Regions from separate parts of the Homo sapiens genome. Here all the other regions are linked to region 2. Evidence: promoter capture Hi-C in 16 types of primary human blood cells and fetal thymus (Javierre and others, 2016). All regions are on one chromosome and are shown on one strand. Each heading gives the region's core, a stretch centred on a gene start or on the middle of the fragment in contact. The rest is flanking DNA. Distances are from core to core; before and after follow the strand shown. Region 1 overlaps GABRB1 (gamma-aminobutyric acid type A receptor subunit beta1). Region 2 holds the start of COX7B2 (cytochrome c oxidase subunit 7B2). Region 3 overlaps GABRB1 (gamma-aminobutyric acid type A receptor subunit beta1). Region 4 overlaps GABRB1 (gamma-aminobutyric acid type A receptor subunit beta1).

Evidence for each region. Contacts are between HindIII fragments. The CHiCAGO score rates a contact against its expected background, and 5 or more counts as called.
Region 1: a fragment that was not itself captured here is called in contact with the fragment with the promoter of COX7B2 in region 2 in 1 of 17 cell types (M0 macrophages); the score reaches 5.0 in M0 macrophages.
Region 3: a contact is called between a fragment that was not itself captured here and the fragment with the promoter of COX7B2 in region 2, in 1 of 17 cell types (M0 macrophages). The highest score is 5.2, in M0 macrophages.
Region 4: a fragment that was not itself captured here is called in contact with the fragment with the promoter of COX7B2 in region 2 in 1 of 17 cell types (monocytes); the score reaches 5.1 in monocytes.

The regions. Positions count from the first base shown.
Region 1 is chr4:47,386,868-47,394,264 of GRCh38, forward strand. The region is part of intron 5 of GABRB1 (gamma-aminobutyric acid type A receptor subunit beta1); the gene reads left to right. Among named protein-coding and RNA genes, the nearest start is that of COMMD8, 73 kb to the right of the region's middle. RefSeq lists a silencer at 4,624-4,683. The HindIII fragment of the contact is 4,382 bases long and covers 1-3,480 here.
Region 2 is chr4:46,904,348-46,911,141 of GRCh38, forward strand. It overlaps COX7B2 (cytochrome c oxidase subunit 7B2), which reads right to left and starts at 4,898. Exons shown (of 3, transcript NM_130902.3): 1 at 4,813-4,898. The HindIII fragment of the contact is 4,961 bases long and covers 4,072-6,794 here.
Region 3 is chr4:47,359,141-47,366,514 of GRCh38, forward strand. All of the region lies in intron 5 of GABRB1 (gamma-aminobutyric acid type A receptor subunit beta1), which reads left to right. Among named protein-coding and RNA genes, the nearest start is that of COMMD8, 100 kb to the right of the region's middle. The HindIII fragment of the contact is 925 bases long and covers 5,184-6,108 here.
Region 4 is chr4:47,267,538-47,274,062 of GRCh38, forward strand. All of the region lies in intron 4 of GABRB1 (gamma-aminobutyric acid type A receptor subunit beta1), which reads left to right. Among named protein-coding and RNA genes, the nearest start is that of COMMD8, 190 kb to the right of the region's middle. The HindIII fragment of the contact is 669 bases long and covers 3,756-4,424 here.

The sequences.
Region 1 (7,397 bases), core at 40-2,539, 480 kb after region 2:
GACCTTACTTTCTTATCTGATAGGCTGCAAAATCAATCAAGAAAAATATGAGAAACATAGAGATATAGACGAAAGGCTAAACAATTAGGAAAATATTAAATGGATAAATGATGGTGTCACCCCACAAAGTGCTGATTAAAGACCTGATTCATCCTACAGGAATATTACCAGGGAAATCTTACAGGGCTCTGTCTTTGTCTCTGCCAGTCCACATTTGTCTCAATCAAGGGAATAATGATAAAAGGCATGTTTTTCAAATTTGCAGATAACATGAAACTAAGAGGTTGAGCAAATCAGCATCCAGAAACAAAAATAGCCCAGGCACAGTGACTCATGACTGTAATCCCACTTTGGGAGGCCAAGACGGGTGGATCACCTGAGGTCAGAATTCAAGACCAGCCTGGTCAACATGAAGAAACCCCATCTCTGCTAAAAATATAAAAATTAGATGGCCTAATTTTTTTTATGGTGTTATGCACTTGTAATCCCAGCTACTCTGGAGGCTGAGGCAGGAGAATCACTTGAACCTGGGAGGTAGAGGTTGCAATAAGCCAAGATTGTGCCACTGCACTCCAGCCTGGGCCACAGAGTGAGACTCCATCTCAAAAAGCAAAAACTCAATAGGCTAAAATAGTAAGTCAAATTGAATTAGATAAAATTATCAAACTGGCTCGATACAATTAAATGGGAACAATATTAGTTCTTATGTGTGAGTCCAAAAGAAAGTAAAAACCATTTGATTGTGGAAAAAGCGAATTTGAACTTGTGCTGCTTTAATGGAAGACCAGTGACTAGACTTTGCTAGCCAGTCACTCCAAGAATGTCATGACTTGGGCAGGCATGGGGGGATCTCATCCACATGGGACCAGAAAAATGGTAGAGGAGGTCAGAACAGGGTTGTATAGAGGCTTAACCCCAGCTGAATAGCCCAGATGGATGCCTATCACATGCAGTTCAACCTGGCAGGCAATTTCATCTTGAGAAATTACAGGTAGACAGCCAATTTAAAAGTCAGGAAGGGCCACAATCAGGGTCAGGAGATCTAATGGTGGCAGCAGAATTTCTATCAGTGGGAAATTTAAGAGGAGTTGGACATATTCCAAATAAATAAAGCTCGGAAGGAGATCTTGGCCGTTGCACTAGAGTCCCATTGGTGTCAAAGGTTCAGCCATATAGCCAACACGCATTATAGGCAAAGTGTCTACATCTACAAATTAATCAAGGGTCTTAAACGGATTATTGGCTCCAAAATACATAAAGAATATTACAATATTAAAATTAGTATAACATGTTAACAAATAAGCTGCAATTAAATGTTTTATAGTGATATGTAAATTATGTTTAACATGGAATGTGAATACATTTTAATGTATTTGATATAATGCCTGGAGTCTAAATGCCTTTAAATGGGTATGGTCTAGTGTAGACAAGGATTAATAGACTAGGCAGTGTAAACAGTCAGATATGAAGAAACCGGGCTCTAGAAAAGTCACTCTGGGAATTTACATATTGTCCAAACATAGAAAATGCCAGGGTCGAAATGGAGTAGGGAGAAGCCTGAGTATCCTGACCTTGCTTTAGGTGTGTTAGGTCCTAGATCTGGTTGGAAGTAATGGGGCTTTCCAGAGGATGCTAAAGAAATCAGAAAACATGGTTGGATTCTATGATCGCAAATCTGGGGATACGTCCAAATCTGCTGCTGCTTAATTCTTATGTCAATCAAGAGTGGCTCCATAACAAGGGCAGAATTAACCTTGGGGACAGGTCTGTGCAATAGAGAAAGAAGACAGATAACCCAAAAAGTGGTAAAAGAAACAAGGTAGACATGACTACCCCTAAGTTTAGGGCTGCATACTTCATGGGACATGTAAGCAAACTGGAAACTGTGAGCAGAAAAAAGTTCCTAAGACTGAGCATACCCTGGGAAGGACCAGAGCCTGGAGAATAAAAGAAAGGGAGCATGAAAAGTGTTCTCAAAGATGGGAGGTGTTATTATGTTAAAAAAAGAAAAAAAGGATTGGGTTTGTTTTCTGTTAACACAGAGGTGGGCAAGGATGTCATGGTGGATACTCTCCAAGAAGATGAATTTTTACTTATGATAGAACATGTTTTCTAATGATTATTATCAGAAACACACTCACCCATCCAAACCCAAAGAATGGACTTAGAGGTATGAAGAACAGTGAAAGTGAGACTTTTTAATAATGGCTTTGCAAGATTGGGTGTTTGGTGGGCAGGCACACTTGGGGAAGTCACATCAAGTAATTTATCTCTTACACAAAGTTCCTCCCCCAGTTCCTCATTGGTTGAGTACTGTGGGGTTACAATTTTCCTGGACATCACCTAAGTTTCATTATCCCCTTATAAGGTTATCCCCATCCCCTTCCCTGCTTAAGATTTGATTTCTCAATAACAAAACTGTCTTCCCTTTTATGGGCTGACCCTTCCTCTGCATTCTGTTCTCTTATTGTGACCTTCTAGGTGCATGAGCTGTAAGGTTTGTTTCATTTGCAAGCGGGCTGCCAGTGCTTAGATTTATCATGCCTTGAAAATGGACCGTTGAAAATGTTCTCTCACAATTATCTAAAAACCTAATTAACTACCGAGCAGACTCAGAAAGTAGTAATATGGCTATCTGTAAGCAGTGGATGACCATTCAAACAGTGGGTTATCAGGAATCAAACATTAAATGGGTTGTTGCATTTTGCCTTTAACTGTGAGAATGTTTTAAAAATCTGGCTTCCATAGTTTATTTGCTGCTTCTTGGGGTGTCATGGAGATACAAAGTTCCATGAGAAAGGAACCCAAAGTAGCCTTTTGAATAATTGTTATGCACATCTGGAGCCACTGGAAAAATTAAACCCAGTTGACTCTCTTATCTGAAGCTAAGATGCACAATTCCAAATATCCAATAACTCTGTAGTGTAAAGCAATCTACATTGCTACAACAGCAGAGCTCTTGATAAATTCCTAATATGTCTCCTCTCATGTGGGAAGAGTAAGAGGAATTAGGGAGTGGTAGACCACTATGCTTATTTCAGTAGGTTATTTTCTAACAATAGTTGAAATGCTGATTTTGAGTGTCATTTAGGATACTTTAATTAGGTGCAACTGATGTAAACAGGAAGGAAACATACTGGCTCCTGTAAGGACCAGGTACTCTCCACTCAACATTCATGTTTGCAAACAGCTAAAAGAGAAAAAGAAATTTACCTTTCCTCCGACTATTGAAGAAAAGTTCTAGGTTTCTTTGGGACTGGATCAACTTGGATCACATGCCTATTGCCAAGCAACTAATTTGGCCAGGGGACTGCTATGAGATAATTGTTTTAGACCTGGATTGTTGCCTAACCCTGAGCCATTCACCATATTTTAATGATTGGCCTAAGCCAATCAAGATCCACACCATGAAATTTGAGATTGGGTTACAACTGCTCCACAACAGGACATAAACTTATTTCTGCCCACCCATGGATTAGAAGCTTAAATGTCTGCATTATCTGAAACACATTTACGTACAAGACTAGACCATCCCCCTAGCTCTATTAAGCACAGTGGGGAGTAATTTTTATTTTCAAATTAGAAAATGCATCCAAAATAGAGTGTTTCAAGTACCAAAAGAATACTAACATCCCAGATACTTCTACAATTGTACTAACTCCATGCATCTTTATCCATTGACATCAACTTAATTTTATCTGTACTTTCTTCACCACTAAGAAATCCCCAGGGGCTGAAAGGAAATTTCAAGAGTTCCTGTATAGTTATTGTTGCTAGGAAACAACATCCTTGGTATCCAAGTGTTCAGCTCTGAGATACTGTGTGAAGTCACTGGTTCATAAAAGAAAACCTTTGGTAAAATAGGTTGTTTAGGTGTGAGTAAATTGATGTTCTCACTCTGTGGCAAAATGTTCTTGTGTAACCTTTGAAATAATAGTGTATTTCAAAGCCAGTATTCTTTCCTTTGGATCTAACTGCCATTATTGCTCCCATGAAAACTCAAGCTTCTACTTGGAGAGGAGTAAGCTGGCCGGGCACGGTGGGTCATGCCTCTAATGACAGCACTTTGGGAGGCCGAGGGGGACGGGTCATGAGGTCAAGAGTTAGAGACCAGCCTGGCCAACATGGTGAAACCCTGTCTCCACTAAGAATACAAAAATTAGCAGGGTGTGGTGGCACGTGCCTGTAATCCCAGCTACTCAGGAGGCTGAGGCAGGAGAATTGCTTGAACATGGGAGGTGGAGATTGCAGTGAGCCAGGATCACCCCACTGCACTCCAGCCTGGGCAAAAGAGCAAGACTCCGTCTCAAAGAAAAAAACAAAAGAAAGAAAAGGAGTAAGCCTTCTTTTTTTCCCCAAATCATCTGTAATTACCTCTGCCTTGAACACTAAGCCTAATGGGTTTTAGTTAAACAAAGTGCGTGTGAGCTTGGAAATAAAGACCCAGACCACTGACTGGATAAATTGTTGAATATTATTAAAATCTCTATTGATCAGTAGTCATAGTCCAGCTTTTTTATTTTGTGTAGTATTGACATGCTCTGCTGCTCTTCAGAAGCGGGAGATAATGTGAGGTGCTGTTTTGACTCACCCTTCTCCCCACCTCAACTGCAAGCGGCAAACCATCACTGACTCTCAGCTAACTGGTGCTTATATGTTTCTCACCTAGGATCTTATAATTCAAAGACCAGCTTGAGGTTGTAGTCCATCACTTCTGTCACTTAGTTAACTCAGTAAGCCTAAAATTAATACACAGATTTTTGCATTTCCTTGGTGCCCAGACTTACCTGTAAGGCCTCTGTGAAGGTGTCCTTCATCAGGGAGTAAATTAGGCTCAAGAATATACCAAATAGGTCCCTCTATCAGATTACCAGTTTGGGACCATAAACTCAAAACTCTAAGCAGCAAACAATATTAACTTATTTATTCAAAAATATGTATTGAAACTTTACTATAGACAGAATCTGTTCTAGGCATCGGGAATTTTTTAAATGAATGAAAGAAGGCCCTTTTCTTCAAAGAGCTTATAATATAATGAGGAATAGAGAAGACAAAGGGTAGAGATAAACACAAAGCTATAGAAACAGTTGAAATATTCTGCATGGTATGTTCAGTACTACGTAACTGACAGGATCCTATCTGGGAGGCAGAAACCACTCAAGATTTTTCAAAAAGGGAATTTAATATTTAATAGAGACTTTGTTACAAAGATTGGAAGGGCTAAAAAAAAAAAACGCAGAAAGGAGAAGGAGAAGAGTGCTAAACGGGCAGATGTCAGAGGCTGCTAACATGCTTGCAGTAGAGCACAAGTTTGAATCTGATGTGATCCTGTGAGAGGCACTGTCCTAGTTGTTTATGGAATTGCCAAAAGAGAGGTGACTTCTTCAATTGCCCTGGCAGCAGTCGCCAGAAACTGAGGCACTACCATGCTGCAAGAGCCAGGAACAGGAAGCTTCTTTCTCCCTTCCACCTTTTTTTTTTTTTTTTTTTGAGATGGAGTCTCGCTCAGTCACCAGGCTGAATGAAGTGCAATGACACAATCTCGGCTCACTGCAACCTCTGCCTCCCAGGTTTAAGCAATTCTCCTGCCTCAGCCTCCTGAGTAGCTGGGACTACAGGTGTGCACCACCACGCCCAGCTAATTTTTGTATTTTTAGTAGAGACAGGGTTTCACCATGTTGGCCAGGATGGTCTTCATCTGTTGACCTCATAGATCTGCCCGCCTTGGCCTCCCAAAGTGTTGGGATTACAGGCGTGAGCCACCGTGCCCAGCCTCTCCCTTCCACCTTCTAATCTTCAGCTAGCTCTTCCTAGGGGAAGTATCTAACATGAAGCCAGAGAGGCAGGAAGCCCAGCCCCAGCAGTACAGAGTAGAGCACAGAAAGTGGAGTATGCAGCATAGAAATATCAAGTGAATGACTGGCATGGGTTACAACAGAGGTTTTAATGAAAAGCTCTGGTAATCACAATGCTGGAGCAAATAGTTCTTCCCTAGAAGAGAAAGAAGGTATGTCAATCCAGTGTCTGTTGCAGACAGCAGAAGTCCATCTAGCTAGTTTAGTATGTATGCTAACCTCCTTTGAGAAAGCTAACTACATCTCCCAGATTCTCTTGAAACTGAGGTTGTGGCTATAATTTAGTTTTCTGGATTAGATGGAGTCAAGTCATGTCAGAGGTAGTGTTTGAAGCATCCGTTTTGCTGGTGCAGATCATAACTCATGGATGGCTCTGGAACCAAGAATTCTGGTTTTAGCTTTCTGTGATCCTGGAATCAATGTGGTTGCTGTAGCTACTTGATTAACAGCTTTCTGATTGTGGCAATCGGTCCCTTTGAAAGGCCAATCTGCACTGTGGTTCTGGGAGTCATTGCTAGTGGCTCAGCCTGGAATCTACTACTTCAGTGTTTTGACTGCAAGCAAAAATGATGAGAATCAGTCCTTGACCTCAAGAAGCTCAGAGCCTAGTGGGGGAAAGACAGATAAGCCAGGTAAAATTCAACATGGTTCTGTGCTTTTTTCGAGGCGTGTGTATAGTGGAGTTTATAAAAGTCAATTAGGAGCAGAAAGGACTGTGACCAGTGGCCATAGGAGTCTACCTACAGCTCTCCCTACACTCAATCCTGGCTACCTAATTACCTTACTCTTCTTGGCCCAGTTTTTTCTTTGCATACTGAAATTGTTGAGGATTTTGTGGTGTTCATATGGATTCAACTTTGCCAAAGTTCAGTTTTCTTGCTAAAATTGAGTTGCTTATTGAGTAAATTTCATGAAGTAAATCACAATATTCCATTGACATCATCCAACCTTTATATTATTCCCTGTATACAGTATTCATCCTATATGTTACTTCTTCTGCCAGGCAGGCCTGCTCTACCCATCTGGCCAAATCCTCTAAGAAGTTTAACTCCCTTGGGTCAATAGTTTGCTTAGACTGCTATTAGACCATGAGATCCTGAAAAGTAAGGCCACACCTAACCCACTGCATATCCTTCATGCCTAGGATAGTGTTTGATGCATAGCAGGCACTACAAGTAGGTGTATTGCAACGTCAAGTATATTTTCCATTGATTTGCTTGCCAGTTTAGAGAATTAGGTATGTTTGATGCCATCCCTAAGAACTAGGTATTGTTCTGTGCTTCATCAGGGATCCTGATGGATATCTAGAAAGATAAGAGACTGAATCCAGAGAAGTTGTCTGTGGCAGAGAAGAGTCAGCAAAGACCTCATGTTAGAGTGCTCAGGAGGGGAAAGTAAGCACGCCAGCATCACTGATGGGTGACTCTAAAGCTAACATGGAAGCTGTGTTCTGTCAGCCCTGTTTTTACTGCCTACTTGAAAATGGGCCACCCAGGATCACAAACTAATGACAGGCATAATGAAGTCAAAAGCTATAGGCAA
Region 2 (6,794 bases), core at 3,648-6,147:
AATGGAGATAACAGTAATAAATTCCTAAAAATGGTCAAAAAAAATGAAAATCACTTCACAGAAGAAGAAATTAAAATGGCCCTTAAAGAAATGCAAAGATATACAACTCATTCACATATTCTTATTAAATAATAAATACAAATTAAAACAACACTGAGATAATATTTTTCACTTATCAGATTGTCAAGAATCCAAATTTTCATAATACTCTGTTAACGAAACAGATCTCACACCATAAGAAGAATGCAAAATAGTACAACATATACAGGGAGAAATTTGGTAATACACAAACATTACACAGGCATTTATCTTTTGATACAGCAATTCTACTTTTAGGAATTTATACATGCAAGCATCCACTAGCAGGAAACTGTTTATGATACATTCACATCACAAAATATTAATTCCATGCAACGAGGAAAAGTTTTCCACATATTGAAAACATGCAGTTGACTGAAAAAAAATGAGGTACAGAGCAGAGTGTGTGAAGTTTGCTATCTTTTGTAGAGAAAAGGAAAAATTAAGAACATGGATTCCTATTTGTATGTGTCTGCATGTTAAAAGACAACACATTAGGTATGCATAGTATGGTAGAACCTACTAAATGGATTACTTACTTACTTATGACTCTGAAGCCAGATTGCCTAAGTCTACTTCTGCCACTTTCAAATTAAAACCTTTTCGAGCCTATTTTTAAAATGGGGAGTATAGAAATTCTTACCTCAGAGAGTTGATACAAGATATAAATGAGTTAATATTTGCAAAGTACATAGGACTGTATTTGGACACTTAAGTATTATACAAGTTTTTTTTTTTTAAGCAACAAACAACTAAATAAATAGAACCTGTAGGCATGGGTAAATATATGAATAGAAGTAAGGTTTGTCAAATTTACATTTTTCCATCTGTTTTAACTTCGCAAATGTATGGTTCAAAAACAATACTAAAAGAATACATGTACTCAACACAACTGTCCCCACACCTATGTAATTTCAACACAGCCACTTTCCCAAACCCTAAAAGAGTTATCCCAAAGCACACTGTGTTCTTAGAAACCGGAACTGAATGTCATCTAGAGGAAGAAGGGGACATGAAAATATTCTTGGTTGCAGCCTCATCAGGATGCTTGTCATTTATGTGAGTAACACAAAATCCTGAAAACTCCTATCAATACGATAATTTTGACATTAACGATTCATCCTACCTGGGAGTAAAATGCACTCAGTATACTGTTGCCTCTCTCAGAGAATGACATTTGAGACATTCCTGCCTTACAGAAAAGTTTAAAAATTTCTAATCAAGTTCACCAGGTTTTAATTAAGTATAAAATTTTCCCTCTACAATATGTTTTTAAAACTTTCATTTTCATTCCCTCTCTGAGCCCTCAGTTTCTGCCACTTTGGTGCAGCTAAAGGTGGACTCTATCTTACAAAACAGAGCCTACCATCTCTGATAAGCATATATTTCTTTTTTTTTTTTTTTTTTTTTTTTTTGAGACGGAGTCTCGCTCTGTCGCCCAGGCCGGACTGCGGACTGCAGTGGCGCAATCTCAGCTCACTGCAAGCTCCGCTTCCCGGGTTCACGCCATTCTCCTTCCTCAGCCTCCCGAGTAGCTGGGACTACAGGCGCCCGCCACCGCGCCCGGCTAATTTTTTGTATTTTTAGTAGAGACGGGGTTTCACCTTGTTAGCCAGGATGGTCTCGATCTCCTGACCTCATGATCCACCCGCCTCGGCCTCCCAAAGTGCTGGGGTTACAGGCGTGAGCCACCGCACCCGGCCCCATATATTTCAATCCTATATTACAGTAGTTCTTTCCACTGTTTCTTGTTATGGAATTGATAAGCTGGTGACCTGCCCCTCAGGGAGGGTCTCCTCTCTCATCTATTTATTTCAGCTGGAAAATCACTCTCAGCAGATTCCTGAATTGAAGCTGCAACTGATGATCCTGAAGCCTGAGCCTCCAGGGGCCCAAAGAGAACTAATTCCTTTTCCATGTGCTCCTGTCTTTCATCATAAAATTGTACAGACCTTGAATAGCATTTTTTTCTGCTACATATTTTTCTGCAACAATGAAACACACCTCTACTTTTTATTTTCTTCTATCCTTCTATCTTTCAGAAAGTTTTAACTGTTCTTAGCTATGTAATCAACTTAGGAAGTTGAATTTCTAACTGGTTAACCTTTTTATTAATTTGGTCTCTTCTCCAACACACATAGCATTAATGCTGTTTGCTGGAAATGAATACTTGACTACCTTATTTTTTTTCTAAGCATTAGTTTTTTTCTAACATACTCCTCTAGTTCTTAAGTTCCAGAATCTTCTTCTCTATCAATAACAATGAAATCACTCAATTCTGAATTTACTAAAAGTATCTACCATTCAAACACATATTTTCCCCTCTTCCTCCCTGAGACAAATAGTTCCATGCAGGAACTTTTCTCTCATTAGACCAACATCTAGTCTATTTAAGCCTGAATTTATCTTCTTGCCTGGCTCATTCCAATATGCCCCTCTTGCTTGAGCCTTGTCTTGCATCCTAATTTTTGGGCACAATCCTTCAAGGCACAAAATGTAACTATGTTCAAAATCTATAATGGCTATGTTACCTTGAAAACCACCTAATGACACTTTGTAAGTTCAACAGATTTCCCTAGTCTTAGTTCTGCCTTTAACGTCATCCCTTAACAGTGACTTCTTAACAGTTTCCTATTTCCTGACTCTCTTTCAAGGAGCCATTCCATTTGAGATCTTGCCTCTTTCTCTTTTTGATTAATTTGACTCAGGTCCTTATCTCAATCAAGTAACAACTAAACTCTTAAACTCTTCTTTTACCAATCCTATGACATACAACATTTAGATCCTCTTGAATCTCTATTTCCCTCTACTTGAACTTCAAATCTCATTTTCTATGTCATTTCTCTTAAGCTGGTGTCCTAATTTCCCAAATTTGCTCCTAAAAACTTTTCTTTTTCTCCAGCTCTAACTTATTTTATTCTTGCTTCCATTTTTCCATTGCTCTCTATTAACAATGAAGCATAAATTTTAAACTACGCTAGCACCTAAAATCCTAAGCAAAAATGATTTTTAGAACCAGATATTCCAATCATGAGACTTTTTAATTGCTTTCTCAGTCACTGTTTTTGCAATAATTGTATTGAATGGTTTCTCATCCTCAATTTATGAAGATTTATGAAAATCTATATGGTCTTTACAAGAAGGGTTCCCATTGCTTTTTAATTTAATATCCAACTCCGTAATTTGATATCCATATGCACCTCCTATGGGTGGAGTCACAGTGTGAATCTCAAAGATCAAAAGTTATGACCAGAGTACACAGAATTGTTAAATTCAAAGCCACTGTGAGATAAAAAAAAAAATAGGAACAACTATTAAATCGATGGCCAAGTCAGATAACTCCAAGACTTGTCACACCAAACTTCCATCTCTTGTCTCTGAAGAGGAGTCAAAACAATATAAAAGATCAGAATTTGAGCAGACTTTTTTTTTTTTTTTTTTTTTTTTGAGACGGAGTCTCTCTCTGTTTCCAGGCTGGAGTGAAATGAGACGATCTCAGCTCACTGCAACCTCCGCCTCCCGGGTTCAAGCGATTCTCCCGGCTCAGCCTCCCTAGTAGCTGGGACTACAGGCGCGTGCGACCACGCCTGGCTAATTTTTGTATTTTTAGTAGAGATGCGTTTCACCCTGTTGGCCAGGATGGTCTCGATCTCTTGATCTCGTGATCCTCCCGCCTCGGCCTCCCAAACTGCTGGGATTACAGGTGTCAGCCACTGCACCCAGCCAGAATTTGAGCAGACTATCTATGCCCCCTATGTAGGCCTGGCACTAAACATTTCCTGCAAATACCACTGGCCATCCTAGAACCACTTTGAGATCTGTAAGGCTCGTACACAAAAAGACTATAATCATACCCTTCTCTCAGTCAAGGCTACTTAGAAAAAACTGCCTCTACAGATTTCAAAGCCAAGCAGCAATAATCACGTGACCAACACCCGTTTAATAGGGATGCCTCAACACTCCTGGTCAGATTTTGTTTGCTGAGTCCCTCAAAGCTTATTGGCTTTTGCTCACAGCCCAAGGTATGCAAACCTGCTTATATACAAACAGCTACTCTCCTGTGGGCAAAATTGCCACTACAGCTGAACATATATGATCGGTACCTAGACCAGTTCTGCCAGAGTGCAACACTTCCCACTTTAGCCATGCCAGAAGATACAACTACACAAATCGCTCTGCAACATGCAATTCCTTTCCTTTTAATTTTCCTTTTACTCCCATCCTATGTCCTAGATGTCAGAGTGAGAGGAAGGTCCAAAATATAACGTCTTTCCATTCCCTCTGGGAGAAATGAAACAAAAAAGGAAAGTGGCAAAAAAAAAAAAAAAAAATCTGGCCGGGCGCAGTGGCTCACGCCTGTAATCCCAACACTTTGGGAGGCCGAGGCGGGTGGATCACGAGGTCAGGAGATCGAGACCATCCTGGCTAACATGGTGAAACCCCGTCTCTACTAAAAATACAAAAAAAAATTAGCCAGGCGTGGTGGCGGGCCCCTGTAGTCCCAGCTACTCGGGAGGCTGAGGCAGGAGAATGGCGTGAACCCGGGAGGCGGAGCTTGCAGTGAGCCGAGATGGCGTCACTGCACTCCAGCCTGGGGTGACAGAGTGAGACTCCGTCTCAAAAAAAAAAAAAAATTTCAAAATATTTCCTGATAACTGTTAGAGCAATGAATGAAGACCATGTCTTATAACTGTCAGCTTACTGACAACGAACCCCAGAATGAGACAAACTTACCAAGGACGTCACAGGTAACAGGCAAAAAAAGACGGCGCAGAGGCAAATTCCGAACCTTTCCGTTTTACAGCCTGGAGGGGTCGGGTAAAACAGGTACTTCCTGTGAGCAGTTTCCGCCTTAGGTGAAAGGAAGAGGCGGTCACATGAAGGACTGCGCGTTCCAAACTGACCAATCAGATAGATGATTGCTATCTCCACGGGAGGAACTAAAAAGACAGCCATTAGGAGAGTTCTTCTAATATAAGTCCCTCTGTAATGAATCAAACAAAAGAATTGAGATGGGTGTTCCTACCTACCAACATAATTCCTAGTGACACCTGTTGGGATCTTTTCCTTCCATGTCGCAGCTATCTCTTGGCAAGCCCCCTGGCTCCGTGTTACTTCTTTATCCCACTTGGTGATTAGGAAAGTTTGAGATTGCCTGTAACCCAAAGCAAGTCATAAATCCCGTGTAGCCCATCTGATCTCTCCTAAGCATACTAGGATGCTAATTATGATGACCACATAATATTTTGCCCAAACTGAGACCCTTGAGAGTGAAAGAGGGCAATGTAATTAATTAAAATTATACGTTTTCTTATTTTTTGAGATTTTGAGACTTTATATTGGTGGGCCAATAAAGTGCAATTCAAAATTCATTTTGGAAAGGAAATTAGTTCTAAAAATTAAAATGATATAATTACATATTAAAGCTAAAACTTTTTGTAAAGTCTGTATTGATAATATGAACATAATAAAATGGCACTTTGGGAGGCCAAGGCAGGTGGATCACCTGAGGTCAGCAGTTTGAGATCAGCCTGGCCAACGTGGTGAAACCCTGTCTCTACTAAAAATACAAAAATTAGCTGGGCGTGGGGTCGGATGCCTGTAATCCCAACTACTTCTGGAGGCTGAGGCAGGACAATGGCTTGAATCACAGTGGCGGAGGTTGCAGTGAGCCGAGATCGAGCCGTTGCACTCCAGCTGGGCAACAAGAGTGAAACTCCATCTCAAAATATATATATGTATAATAAAATGATCATTCTTGCTGTATGCTGATGTATTTTAATTAGTGTTTTGGTCTATAAGACTGGGTCACTGATATTTTCTAAAGAATATATTTTAATATGGTATTATTACTTGTCAACTTTTTAAATCGCCTATACTCTTCTAAAACATGTACTTTATGGGTGATATATGTCAAATTGTTGACATCTTCACTTAACTGTTCACCATGTATTATAGTATTTTAAATTGAGAAAATAAGCTCATAGAAATTCTGCTAAACAGAAAATACCCTTTCTATTTTTTTCATTTTGAAATATGTAATTTTTTCAGTCCAAATATTTTCGCAAGTACCTTCTTCTGGCCTGTAAGGTAACCTATCTTCAGCACATATTTGTATGAGACAAATTTCATTAATTTTGTTGTTATTTATATTCTTTTGAGGTTTTTTTGTTTTTTTGTTTTTGATGGAGTCTTGTTCTGTCTCCCAGGCTGGAGTGCAGTGGCACCCTCTTGGCTCACTGCAACCTCTGCCTTCCCGGGTTCACGCGATTCTCCTGCCTCAGCCTCCTGAGTAGATGGGATTACAGGTGCACACCACCACACCCAGCTAATTTTTTGTGTATTTTTAATAAAGACAGGGTTTCACTATGTTGGCCAGACTGGTCTCGAACTCCTGACCTCGTGATCCGCCCACCTCGGCCTCCCAAAGTGCTGGGATTACAGGCATGAGCCACGGCGCCCGGCCTCTTTTGAAGGTTTAACAAATTTAGATCCTGCAAATTGGAAAGCCTTTTAAATTTTATGTCTCTAAAAATGTGAATTTATACTACTTATAGTAGAAATCCCATGAAAAAAATTATATAAATTTAAAATATTCCAAAGCACAATTATAGAATGTGAAAGTTAAATATTATATAAGATTTAAGATCCAATTAAATTTGTTCATATTATCCCTTGGTTTTGAATGAGTATTTTAAATATTTTCCTGTGTCATG
Region 3 (7,374 bases), core at 4,396-6,895, 460 kb after region 2:
GGCTTCTCAAAATATTCTTCATGTGCAAGTACTGATGGCTTTTGGCTGTAATCTCACAGCTCTTGCAAAGATTTCAAATCTCAAGGGGGCCAGACAGTATTATGAGATCTGAAGTATACCCCTTAGCAGTGAACATCATGATGGAAACATTTATCATTTTTTCATCTGAAGATTTGTTATTCAGTGTTTAGAAAAGCTGCCTTAACTCTTGTATCATTTATTTAATAGCAGTGAAATCATCTTGAATTTGTAGAGAACTTTGTACTTTTCAAAGTGCTTATACATACATCAGTTCATTTAATCTAAATGGCCCTTGATTGACCTAAAAGTTAAATCAGCTTCCCAACGTGCCTAATAATCATAGAGAGTACTTTTGGAGCTGAAGAAAAAAATGACCCAAAGTGAGGAAATTGCTCTGAAAGCATTCTGTAAAATCACAGCACCATTATTACACAAATTCATAAATAGTGAAGCTGAGTTAAACCCATAAGACAATTCTGGGGATTATATGAAGATTTTCAATCCTTTACTGTTTACTTTGTTTTTAACACTATTTTCTGTAAGCCTAGCTCTCAAGTCCAATTTCACTGTATTAAAAATTTCAGACAAAACCCTGCCTTTATTTTCATTCTGCCTTTCTGTTAATAGCCAAACCTACACATTCCATTTAAAGAAAAACTGAGGGTAATTTGTGGTCAAAAGACTCTAACATGAAACACCTCAATGAGATGGTGCCTGAATATTAATCCCTATACAAAGCAGATGGTGATTTCTTTTTTAAGCAAAAAATGATCTGTGTTTCTGCCTGTGTGCTTTCTGCATCAGACTTGAAGTAAAAATGAATTTCTATTTTGTTTCACTCTGGGAGCCTGTTACATTAACCAACATGAGAGCGGGGAGGATCACCTAATATGGCCAAATATAATTACAAGATGTACAACAAAGGCACTGGCTGTTTCTACTCTCTGCAGGAAAGCTTTAAAAAAAAAAAAGATAAACAGACCCAGCATAATCTCGAGAATCCGTTTATTATTCTGCTGGTGGAGTCTGTAGCTACGGAGACATCTGTGATATGGGATAAGGAAGATTTTTTTTTCCAGAAAATTTGAAGAATACAGAGAGTAGGAAACATCATTTTTAGGATTGAAAACCTAAGAAATAACTGTATTTTTGCCTATTTTTTTAAACAATTGATGACAAGAGTGCTGCAACTCAGAGTTTTTTTTTTCTCTCATTTTTTGGTGTTAGAAAATAAAAATGGAATCCAGCCTCTTTTCATATGTAGGGAAATAGCCAATTTCCTACAACAAGTTTGAATAGCTGCCTGTGTTAATAATATAACATGGCTCTAATCCTGAGTTCTAATTATGGTGTGCAGTAATGTATCTGTTGGAGTAAAAGTGCAGATAAAACCTTGTTTCAAAGGTATTTTCTGCTATGGATTTGATTATACAGTTCTATGGAGCAAATCATAATGCCTTTACAGTTAGTCCTACAAATAGCATGACTACTATTTTAATGTAAAATCTCTATTATTACAATGAGGAGTCTACTGTATTTCTTTAGAATCTGAATTTGGATACTCAAAACTACTCTTCGATTACCATATGTGTTATTATATAGAGAGTAAAGTGGAGCATTGGGTCAAGAATCCACATAATTAAGACCCATAAGTCACTTTCACATGACTTACTCTGGTAATTCAAGTTGTGGTCAGAAATAATAATAATCCCAATTTTTGTTGAACACTTACTATACATCAAACACATTCTAAATGCCTTATGCATGTTAATTTATTTACCTCTCACAACAACCCAATGAGAATAAATACTATTAATATTTCCATTACATAAATGAGAAATTGAAATCACAGAAATTTTGCATAACTTGATAAAGATCAAACTGCTACTGGATACTGCGGCCAGAATTTAAACCTAGTTAATTTGGCTCCAGGTAACCACCATATAATGAAGACTCTTCAGAAGCTAGTGACAAGAAAAAAATAGTGGTGCATCGCATGGTTCTTTGTGTCTATAAGATTAAAACAAAACAACTAAAAAAGGAGGTCAAGGAAACCGCAATGATGTTCCTGGCCGTAACAACAAAAAATTTCTTCTGGGGACTTAAGGAAAGCGTGCCAACAAAATATCTCATGGACTAATAGTAAACAAGCCAAAAGGCAAAGGGTAAAACATATTCTGGATTTAGTCAGAAATGGCAACATATGCAAAAGCTTTGTGGCAAGAGGAACATGGGTATTTGAGAAACTAAAGCTGAAGCCAGGGTAGCTAAAGTCAGAGTGAGGGGAGCCTGCAGGAGTTGAGGTTGTAGAAGAGACGGAGCAAAATGAGAAACCACTGAAGGAACTTAGGCAAGAGGTAAAGTGAACAGATGTGTACTTTGAAATCTGTCACCTGGCTGCCACAATAGTGAACAGTTTGGAGAAGTACAGAGTGGAAGTGACTAGACCAGTTCAGTAGCATCTGCCAAATATGACAAAAATGGTTATGGCAGTGGTGATGGAAAAAAACTGGACTGATTTAAGAGAAATTCCAGTGTTAAAATAGGAAATTACAAATTAGATACTGGAGAAAAGGAGGAAGACATCAAAGATTACTTCCAAGTTTCTGAATGGTGCAACTTTGTTGATGATAGGTTTTGATGGGGAAATCAAAAAGTCATGCTGAAGATATTGAACTTGAGGTGGCTTTAAGTCATCAACTGGGGTTGTCAAGTGGGCAGTGAGGCTATGGACCTGGATCTCAGAGGAGAAATCTAGGCTGGACATGTACATTTGGAAGTTATCAAGGCAGAGAGAGTTGTTAAAGCCAATGACATGGATAATTTGCCTAGTGAGAAAATGGAAAATGAATGAGAAGAGAGGAAGACCTAGAACCCAACCTTGAGAGAAGAGCATAAGTCTGCAAAGAATTGTGACAAGGAGCTTCCGTATAAATAGCAGGATGACTAGGAGAAAACAATATCAGAGAAGCCACTGGAGGAAAGTTACAAGAAGGATGGCAAGGATAATCAGGTCAAATGCTGCTGACTGGTCAAAGAAAATGAGAACCAAAAACTGAATATAGCAAAATGAGGGTCAGAGCCGTAGTAGTACAAACTGTTTGGGATTGATGGAACTAGAAGTCAGAGTGGAGTAAGGTAAATGGACACAGGAATTATGGATAACTCTAGAAATTTGGCTATGGATGAGGGAGAGTGAGTAGAGTGGCAGCAAGAGAGAAAAATGGGATAGGTGGAGTGACCTCAGCCATAAAATTTATATCTGTAATGAGAGTATCTCAGAATTCGCCCACATTTCTAGGCTATTGATGTGATTCTCACATCAAGTTATAAAATTCGAGCATTTTCGAAGGTTTGAGTAGTTTGTAATCCATCATAAATTTTACGTGGTTCTAGGAGACTTCTTTTTTCTTTCATATAGTGATCCATTAACCTGGTTATGATTGTGGCACATAGAAGCCCAATTCATGTATGCACTCAGAGGACAGACTAGGGTGCCTATAGAGGTTTAAATTATTGTCCTTCTGTTGCTGAGGAAGTAAAAGGAACAATCTTTTAAGTTACCTAAGACATAGATACTTAAAAAGTCCTCAGGCGTCAACTGTTCATCACTGTTTTTAATTAAATATTTATTAAGCACACACTGCATATCAGCTATTGTGTTAGATTTTGAGAATACAAAGGTGAATAAGACACAATTCCTAACCTCAAGATGCTCATCAAATAACAAGAAATGAATATGTGTAAACAGATACTGCTAGTACACTGTGAACATGCCATGAAGAGATATGTGCAAGATGCTACACGAAGAAAGGTACCTGAAGCACCAGACTGATAAATGAGAATGAGTGTCTAAGCGTGTGTGTGTGTGTGTGTGTGTGTTTGTGTGTGTGTCCAAGGGGCTCAGTTGTGGAATATTTTATGGAGATGAAGACTTCCGAATTGAGTCTTAAAAACTATTAGTTTACATTTATTGAGAGATTACAATGTGCCAGGTAGAGTGGTAAGCACTTTACACCTTAACAAATTTATTATACTCACTTTAGAGATAAAGAAATTGAGGCAAATAGAGTTGAAGTAACTTGTCCATAGTGACACAAACTACTGAGTGTCAGAGTTGGAATTTTAACCCAGTCTTCCTTCAGAGCCCATCTTCTAGACTACCATGCTACATACCATATACCATGGACCATGACTTAAAATTAGAGATTAGCCAAATTTTGTATGTGTCGGTTATGGGGGAGGAAAAGGCACATCTCAGGCCCGAAAATCAGTCTCTCTTACTTTTGGGTTTTCTCATCCCACTCTGATTGCAGGATCCTGAAACAGCTATCCCAGGGTTAAAAAGAGGGAGACATGACCACTCTCCCAGGTCATATTTATAATACCAGTAAGCAGAAAGAGGCTTATTATAAAATAATCTATGATCTGGTCCCCTGGTTACCATTAGAGAATAGAAACAGAATGGATTACAGGTTTCGTCCATTTTAAAGTAAAGTTTGCTATGAATAGACTAGAGGATACTTTTGTATTTAGGTTAATAAGTTCCTCTTGGGAACAAAAGGGCTAATAAGGAAGGAATCCTGCTCCTTTCTTAATGTTTCCAAGTTAAGCTCCATCAGACCATCTGGCAGTCATGGTACTTAGAGCATAAGAGGTGATTAATACCACCCTGGGATGTACTGAATAAACAGAAGATCATAAAAGAGAAACAGTGTTCACCTGGACAGGGTCAGGAAGATATTAAGGTTAATCATCCCTAGCTTCCCAGAACACTTAATCAGGACAGAGAATATTCTTTTATGAGCTGGAGATCTCAACAACAGTTCTAAGATCAAGGGAGGAAAGAAACTAATCTACTTCTCATGCAATAACACATTTATCTGATCGCTGGAGATAGAAATGGTCTAAATTCACACAATAAAAACTGCATGCATCAGAGACACAATATAACAGCAGCCTTACATTTAGGACTTAGACCAACAGAGAAGACACTAGAAGAGGCTGGCATTGCCTTGGATTTTTTGAGATTTCCAGAGTGAGGATTTTGGGGAGATTCTCTCTCAGTTAACTGAGAGGCCATTAGGGGAATAATTAAAAAGTGGAAGGACAAAGGCCTCCAAACTGTCCAATTTACTTTATGAGTATTCTTCATGTTGCCAAGCTTCTTGCCTTTTTGTAGCACAAAAGCAAATTACAAAATAAAGAAAAAAAGATCAGACAAAGTAGAAGTTGGAGTAAAAGAAAGGGATGGAGAACAAGAAGAGGAAGAGCAAAAAAGCTATTAAAATGATAAAGACAGAGAAGGGAGTTGAGGCAAATGAAAGAATAAAGTTGAGAATAAAAAGAAAAGGAAAAGATAAGAAAATAAAGCAAAATTTCAGGCTGAAAATGGAAGGTTCAACAAAGATAAAACTTAAAGAATAAAAAAAAGAAAAGAAAAACTAAAACCAGTGAGACTAAAAAAAATTTAAACATGAAAGAAGGATGAAAGATTAAAGATAAAACCAGCATAAATAAAAAACATAAAGGGCTAGAACCAGAGAGATAAAAAGCTGGAAACATGAAAGTTAAAGGAATGAAAGATAAAAGCTAAAACAAGAAAATTCAAGTTAAAAGCAATACTTAGAAGATGCGCATAAAATTCTTTTAAAGACTGCTTAAAATTTGTTTCCTTCTTAAAATGGAATAGAAAAAAAAGAATTTGAGATAGAAAGTACAGACAAGGAAAAATAAGAACCCTAAAGAATGAAGCAGAACAAACTAAAATAGAAATAAGGAAAAAATTAAATAATCAACATACACCATGGCAACAAGAAATTCTAAAATAATATCAGGATGCTGATTTGCACCACAGAATATGTTCTTGGTATAACAGGGAAACAAAAGGAATAGGACAAAGAGAGGAAAGCAGTGAGCACCTAGCTGACTGCACTCTGAAAACCTATCCTCAGTTCCTGTACATCCTTCCACCTCTCCGGTCCCTGTATGGAGGTCCCTCTGACCAAGAATAGAAAACAAAATACAATTTCTCTCTAATCCTCAGCTCAGCTTGCATGACTGCTACAATTAAGAGACACAGACAGAAGCTTCAGCAGTTTAGATACAGTGAACCCTAGGCAAAATTCCAAATGATAGTCTGTTTCACTTTTTTGTTTGTTTGTCCTTTCAATATCCTCCTGCCCTTTAATCTATCACTCATTCATTTATTAGTTAATTACCACTTAGTTTGAGTTAGTTTAATTCACCCTTTTTCAGGATAATTTTCATTTTACAAGAAGGCCCATTGGAGAGGGATTTGGGGTAAGGATTGTTTCTTCCCACCCAGCGATTAGCAACACCAGGAAGATTGATGTCAGATGTCTTCCTTGCTCCACCCCCGCTATACCCCTTCTCTTGCCTCCCTTCTCTGCCTGCTTTGTGTCCTGGGAGGGTGACCTATCTGGATTGCAGTCATGGGCTTGTTTACTCCGTGTCTTCTGGTTGATTTTACCAATGAAAGGCATGGGCAGGAGATTAAAGGATAAGAGGAAAGTGAGATCAAGGTATTTATTCCTGTATTTCGCTCATCGCCATGGATTGACTCCATCCCTCTGCCAAGACCACGGCTCCTACCTGAGGGCCTTCTCCTGAGCTACACCCTCTGGATTCTGAGCACAGCTAACCTGCTCTCTCCCTTGACTCTTCAGGCCCAGAGGTGGTGGTGACTGGCTCCCTAGCTGTTGCCTGCCTCAGGATGCTTTGTTGTCCAGTTCTTACCTTGTTGCTTTCTCTTAGCCCAGTCCTGAGAGTTGTAAATAGCCCTTTGATTAATTCCTCAATTTATTCACATTGAGTGTGCCATCTGTTTCCTGCTGGGACCCTGATTGACACAGTAGGTAAAAGTATGTCATAGGCAAATTTAATTTTAGCATTCTTCACCCCAACATTCAGTGCCCTCATACTACCCATAGACTCAACATAGGTTCCCATTTTGAACAATTCCAGGTCTCATAAAGCTATTGTGCCATCTGGAATGTGTCTGACTTCCTTTCTTGTCCAAATTTATCTGTATATTGAACCATTTTCCCAAGACACAGATCTCTTCAGTGTGCATGCAGGTGAGTCTCCATAAGCTAATCTCTGCCGGAAAATGTATTGTCTCTCACTCAGGTAGCAGAGTGTCTCCTAATGGCCCTCAAATTACAACATAAGCATGAATTATTCCAAACACAATTCTTAGCTAGCATCTCTTCCTCCAGTTTTGTTCTCCACCTACCTATTCTAAGCACTGCAGCCAGATACATTTCTCTGTAAAGACATTCTCATTATGCTACCCACTGGTTTTTAAAAGCCTCAGTTGCTACTCATTGT
Region 4 (6,525 bases), core at 2,840-5,339, 360 kb after region 2:
TAATCTCAGCACCTTGTGAGGCCGAGGCAGGCGGATCACCTGCGGTCAGGAGTTCGAGACAAGCCTGGCCAACAATGCAAAACCCCATCTCTACTGAAAATATAAAAATTAGCCAGGCATGGTGGCAGGCGGCTGTAATCTCAGCTACTCAGAAGGCTGAGGCAGGAGAATTGCTTGAACCCGGGAGGCGGAGGTTGCAGTGAGCTGAGATTGCACCATTGCACTCCAGCCTGGGTGACAAGAGTGAAATTCCATCTCAAAAAAAATAAAAAGAGAGAGAAAGGAAAATTGTTAAATAAATGGAGATGACTTTAATAGATTGGAAAAAAAAAGTAAGTTGTCATGTTGAAAGACTCGCCAAAATTCCCAGATCAATAAATTAAAAAGATGCACTTGAAGGCCCATCACTATGAAATTAGCACCTCCTGAAGATAAAAAAATTTCAGAGAGGTTCCAGGAAGAAAACTTAAATCATATTCAAAGAGGAGGGAAAAGAATGGCACTTGACTTGTCATCAGCAGAACTGGAATCTACAGAAAGTGAAGAAGCACTTTCAAAATCCTGAGATAAAATGACTCAACCCAAAAATTCCATGTGTAATAAATCATCTATTAATATAAGAGTAAAAATATGACCTGATACTTCAAAACTAAAAAAAATTTACCTCCATTTATATACTTTCTTACAAAGTTGCTGTAAAATGTGCTACAACAAAATGAAATAGTAAACTCACTCTGGATTTAATTGAATTGTTAGACACCCTGTTGATGTCAGAAAATTGGCTGTTAGGATACATTGCAAAAGAAGAATGTTTCAAAATATAAAACGTCAGAAGAAAAAGCTAAAATGGTTCAAATGATTTCCTTCAGAAAGCCTAAGGAGTGGAAAAGAGAAGGGTAGGGGATGCTTTATTTCCTTAAAATCTTTTAGTTTTTTTCCTATGTGCATGTATTACATCATTAAAATGAAATTTGATTTAAATAATAATTCATTTGTAGAAGGTAAGAGTATCATTTAATTTTACTATTCGCTAAGCTCCCCAAATCATAATCCCCATTACTTAGTCATTAATGCATCCATTCATTTGTAAGTATCCACTAAAAGTGCTTAGTTTGAATAAAAAGATTTTTGAAATGTGTAATTTCAATGAGAAAAGCCACATGGAAAAAGCAAGAGAATAAATACAAAGCAATATGTACTGATAGCATTAAAATGCTTATTACTATCAGCTAGCTGAAGTAGAACTTTTTTCTACTGGGCAAATTTTATAACATATTGGACATAATGTGATTGACTAAAGGGAGGATACACTTTGCACTGTACATGTTATCATTTATTATTATACAAAACTCTTCAAAAACAAAGCATTTATACAAAAATCCATTTTGTGAGTATAGGAAAACTGTGTTTCATGCAAAATGAAAACCCAAGCTGTTTTATTTTCATTTTTGGTTTCTCATTTGGCAACCATGTTTTAGTTTAATGTTGGAGTTGAAACATGTGCTACAACTTATTTTGATGGTCTCCAAAATCATTTATTTTGGTCTGAATTTAAGCACTGTTTGAGATTTACTTAATGATGTTCAGGTTGATTTCTTTTTTATTCATTTGCATCAGTCAATTTGTTACTTTTAGCTTGCAAGAAGAATATACAGATGTATTTTAAATACACTATTTAATTCTCAGAAGAAATATAATTCTGCTATGGCAAGGCTGAAACCCTCTAATCACAAACCCTTTCTGCCCCATTGAAACAGCACTTTTCATTATGCACTTCTTTATTAACTTAAGGTTTCTTAGGCAAGCATCATTGCATTAGTGCAGAACAGACATTGGGACGTTTAACAAAACAGAAAACAGAATTTCATTGGAGCTAATTAAATAATGAGAACCATTATATTAGTCAAATTAATTCTGTAAAATCATTTCACTTAGTTGCATCCAGTGATAGATGGCTCCAGTGGGGTTTAGTGTGAGGTGTGGGGGAGGGGGTAGGTTTTTGTCAACATCCAACAATTGAGGCAACTAGAAAAGAGATTACCTTATAGCCAGATGCACCTCATTCTTTCCTGGTCCTTTTCTCTTATATTCTTTTTCTCTATTCTATGTTTTTATGCTCTTTTGTTTTCTTTCTTCCCCGTGTCTTTGTCATGCCAAATATAGCTACTTAACATGTATTATGTGTCGGGGATGATACACTATGTACATGTATTAACTCTTTAATTCTCACCACAAGCATTTCCGTTATACTGATAAAGAAGCTGAGATGCAAGAGGAACTCCTCAAATTCACATAGCTAGAAGAGCCCACATTCTTAATTGTTACATCAAACTTAATTTTTACATTATTCACTACTTAACAAACCTGATGCTCTAAGGTGTCCTTGTCAACTCTCCCTACACACACACACACACACACACACACACACACACACACACAGGCTGAGTCTGATGACTCTTAAAGAAGTCCAACAAATTCCAGCTTCAACTAGCTCAACCTAATTGGTCAGTCTTTTGCCTGCAATGCAGTTGTTAGTTGTCCAGTTCGCCTTTGGATTCTTAGACTATTTCTATCTTCCAAAACAGTGTTGAGGGCTGTTACAGATAAATAATAGGAAAAAGTCTGATTGGCTGGCTCTGAATGTATGCACATGACATGGCTGTTTTGGTTTTAGCCTTAGGATGCCATTTTCCAAAAGCTTACCTGTGCATTATAAGCTACTGTTGGCAGTCTGTTGCTGCTAAAATGAGGAATAATTCCTGCCTATTAGTAAGTGAGTTTACCTCCAGGAAACCACTGAAAGTGAGTACAAATCAGAAGAGTTTCTGCAGGAGCCTAAATTAACCTGCAGGAGCCTTTCAGAGCTGCAAGCAATATTACTCCCAAGCACAGCAAGGTCAGCCCAGTCACAATTTTGGCTCTGCTTCTAAAGTGGGAATAATTTTTAAAAGAGAATTGCCTGTTGCTTTCTGTTGTGGAGTGGGGAGGGAAACATTAAGAAAATTTGACTAATCAAGTGCTAGAAGAATTGAAAACTGAAGTTTTCTGATTAGAAATGCAAAGCTAGGATCATGCCTTCTTGTATTTGTCAGAGTGGGGAACATAAAATCCTCCTAACCTATTCAGCTAGCTGAAATGTTTCCATGACAACAGTGGGAGCTTGGAACATTCGGTACTCTTGTCTTCAAAAATAACCTTTCAGTATAGGCAAGAGATTGTCAAAAGCACTAACCCAACTTCACCTTTGCTGTCCAAGGTAACTACCTGACCATTATCTTGGTCTCTTACTTCCCTGGAAGAACTTCAAATGGTTTGTTTATCCTATAGCATACGAACACAAATTAAGATAACCAGCCCAGGTTAAACTGTATTTAGTCTCAGCAGGTTATAGCACTTTTAGTTTGTGCTATTAGTATAAAATGTACTAGTTTTACCAAAGCAAAGAACTTACTTCTATGCAAAGAATTTATAAAGGTTGTTTCTTCTCTCCTTTTAAAGGCAATCAAGTTGAAAATATAAAATAAAGTTATCTCTGATAATATTTTTCTGACATGTCATCAACACACGTTCATGATAAATAATATAGAAAATGCAGGAAAATGTTAGGGGAAAAGTGCATTTATTATCTCACAGCCCTGAGAGCCTACCCATTATTAACATGTTTATATATTCCCTGCTAGTATTTATAGTATAGCCCTATTTTATTTGTTCATATTTATAAACTAAACCATTATTTAAGTTTGGCCACAGAGATAAGCTTGGATAATAAAAGGTTTATTGCCTAAAATAAAACCTCAAAATATAGTAGATAATCATGTGGGTGGCAGTGTTTCCAAGACTGACATCATGAGAACCAAAACAACAGTTTAATGAATACTCAAATGTAATTAACCTACCTCATCTGCGCATTTGGCATTCCTACTTCTCCAGAAAGAGGCACTGATTTGTCTGTTGGCCACCATCCAATATGGGGCATCTCTTTCCCTGGCTTAATCAGTCCTGGCCCAGGTGGCACACTTATTTCAGGTATCACAAATGCTATAAACCCCAGAAATCTCACTGGGCCATTTCAGCCTTCTTTGTGCAGAAGGCAGCTTCAGAGGCTCCTTTCCAGTTTACCCTATACACAATTTTATATTATTTTCTTTCTTTCAGAGATATATCATCAGTAACGTTTCAGGAGTGGGACAGTGGAAGTGGTTCACCTCAGATGCAAGCAATAAGGGGGAAGGAACATATAGAGAAATTAAAAGCAACGATTAATAAATAAAATCAAGTAAAATTCAGCCTGCCTCATAGTCTCACAATGTTCCAGTGATCCTAAATATCAGGGAGAAAATATTCTTTTTCTTCAAATCCTTTTTGTTGATCTAGGTTCTAAACAATTAATGAAGACATGGGTGAGTTTTACTAGTATATATTTAAGCTTCAAATGAGCACATTTTCATTAGTTACACATTAATAACTTTGTTATGTACATGAGAATTAATCCAAACGACTCCATGTATGGTCCATGACACACATAATTAACTACCCGTGTTCCTCTCTTTTGGAAAGTTAGTTCTATAGGATTTAGAATCATTCAAGCTCACTTTGGATGCAGTTCATGTATTCAACTCCTGTGCTGTATATTCCTGCACTTAACTAGTAGATTTTAATAAAAAGTGGCAACATAATGGTTGTAAAGATAAACAGAAGTTGAGTTACTTCAACTATGTCTTTGTATGTGCAGATCATTCTCTGAAACACTGGGAATCCAATGTTTGGAAGTATTGTGGCTTCCCCTCCCCTTCTTTAAAAAAATGTAGTCTAAAAATACTAATTTGTTTATTTTCATTCTTAGTACTGTGTTATTCATTTTTACATTTTATTTTATTCCGTTTTCTTTACTGGCATGATTACATATGAAAAAGTTCAAGATAAGAATTCTATAATTCATGCTTCTTTTTTAACATTATTATTTGTTATACTTTATGGTTCTATATTAACTAAATAAATTTTAAAAATTATAACTGGTAATTACAGAAATTAATCAGTGAAAATAATTTTGATCTATAGAAAGGAGGGAAAAAATTAAAAATAATTCACCCTAGATGTCAAATACTTTAGGTATTCCTCTGTCTCTTATGTTTTAAGCATGTAATTATAATGAAGTTTTCCTTACAAACACTATCCCACTACATCCAAAATATTCCTTTACCCAGAGAAGCCAAAATTTATTTAACTACTAATCTATTATTGAACAAGTAGGTTGTTTCCAGATTTTGCTGTTATAAATAGTGCTATAATGAATATCTCTGTATACATTTTATTCCTGCTTTCTGACGAAACCTGAGTTTAACTTTATGGGACTGCTTATAAGCAATAAACAGGGCCAAGAAGCAGGGCAGGAGTACCATAATCAATTATTCACAGACTAGATGATGTGAACCGTTACTGTAATGATGAGTTCACTGTAGTGAACTCTCGTTTATTCAGTAGTTAATTATCCATAAACCAAGTATCCATAATTTAGATTACCTACCTACAGCATCCTAAGGAAAAAAGCCAAAAGACAAAAAATCCTTATGGTGCGTTGGCTTTAAAAAGCCTTAAGAACCTCCCTGTTTAATATATGCCTCTATAATTTCTGTGCTGTATTCTTGAACATTTCCATCTATCATGTTATACAGGAGCTTTGCAGAATAAAATCCTCCCAGGCAGCTACCAGTCATCTGGAGCATCCTAATATGCTATATTTATTCACATTTCAATGCACATGCTAAATAAGAAATTGGTGATATGATGGAAGGGACTATGGATACTCAGATTTGTTCTTAAGCTTGGAGTCAGACATTTCTCTGGGTAGTTTATTTCCTGCCAATCTTGTGTGCAACACATAAGGAAAGTAAATACAAGGAAAATCTGATTTACCCCCACACCAAGGAAGAAGCCATGCCCCAAAGTCACAAGGCGGTGCTTCTGGGAGAGGATTGTTCTGGGCACAGTAGGACAAATTGGTGGCTAAAAGTTTGGCTCTAGTGCCAGACTACCTGAGTTCGAATCCCACTTGCTAGCTAGGCAAACTTAGGCTGGTCATGGGCTGTACTAGGCTGTGGGATTAAATAATAATAACAATAAACAAGTTGTAGTCCCTGCCCTGCTGGAAACTTAGTTGACAGAGAAAGAAAAGAGAGTCACACAATTGAAAAAATTATTACACAGGAGAACACAGATGAGGGCATCCCACCCAGACTCAGGATATCTGTCAGTTATTATTTTATTATTGAGATTGAGGTTTTGTTCTATAGAAGACACAATCTGTTTGAAAGTAAACCATATATACATACACACACACACACACACACACACACACACACACACATTGAAGGTAGATTTTTTTCTCTCTTCCTATGTGTGTATATGTACACACACATACATTGAAAGATTATGCATGCATACACATACATGTATACATTTACACTCATGCAAGTATTTATATACATACATGAATACGTATTTTTCTTCCAGGCAAAATGATTGGAT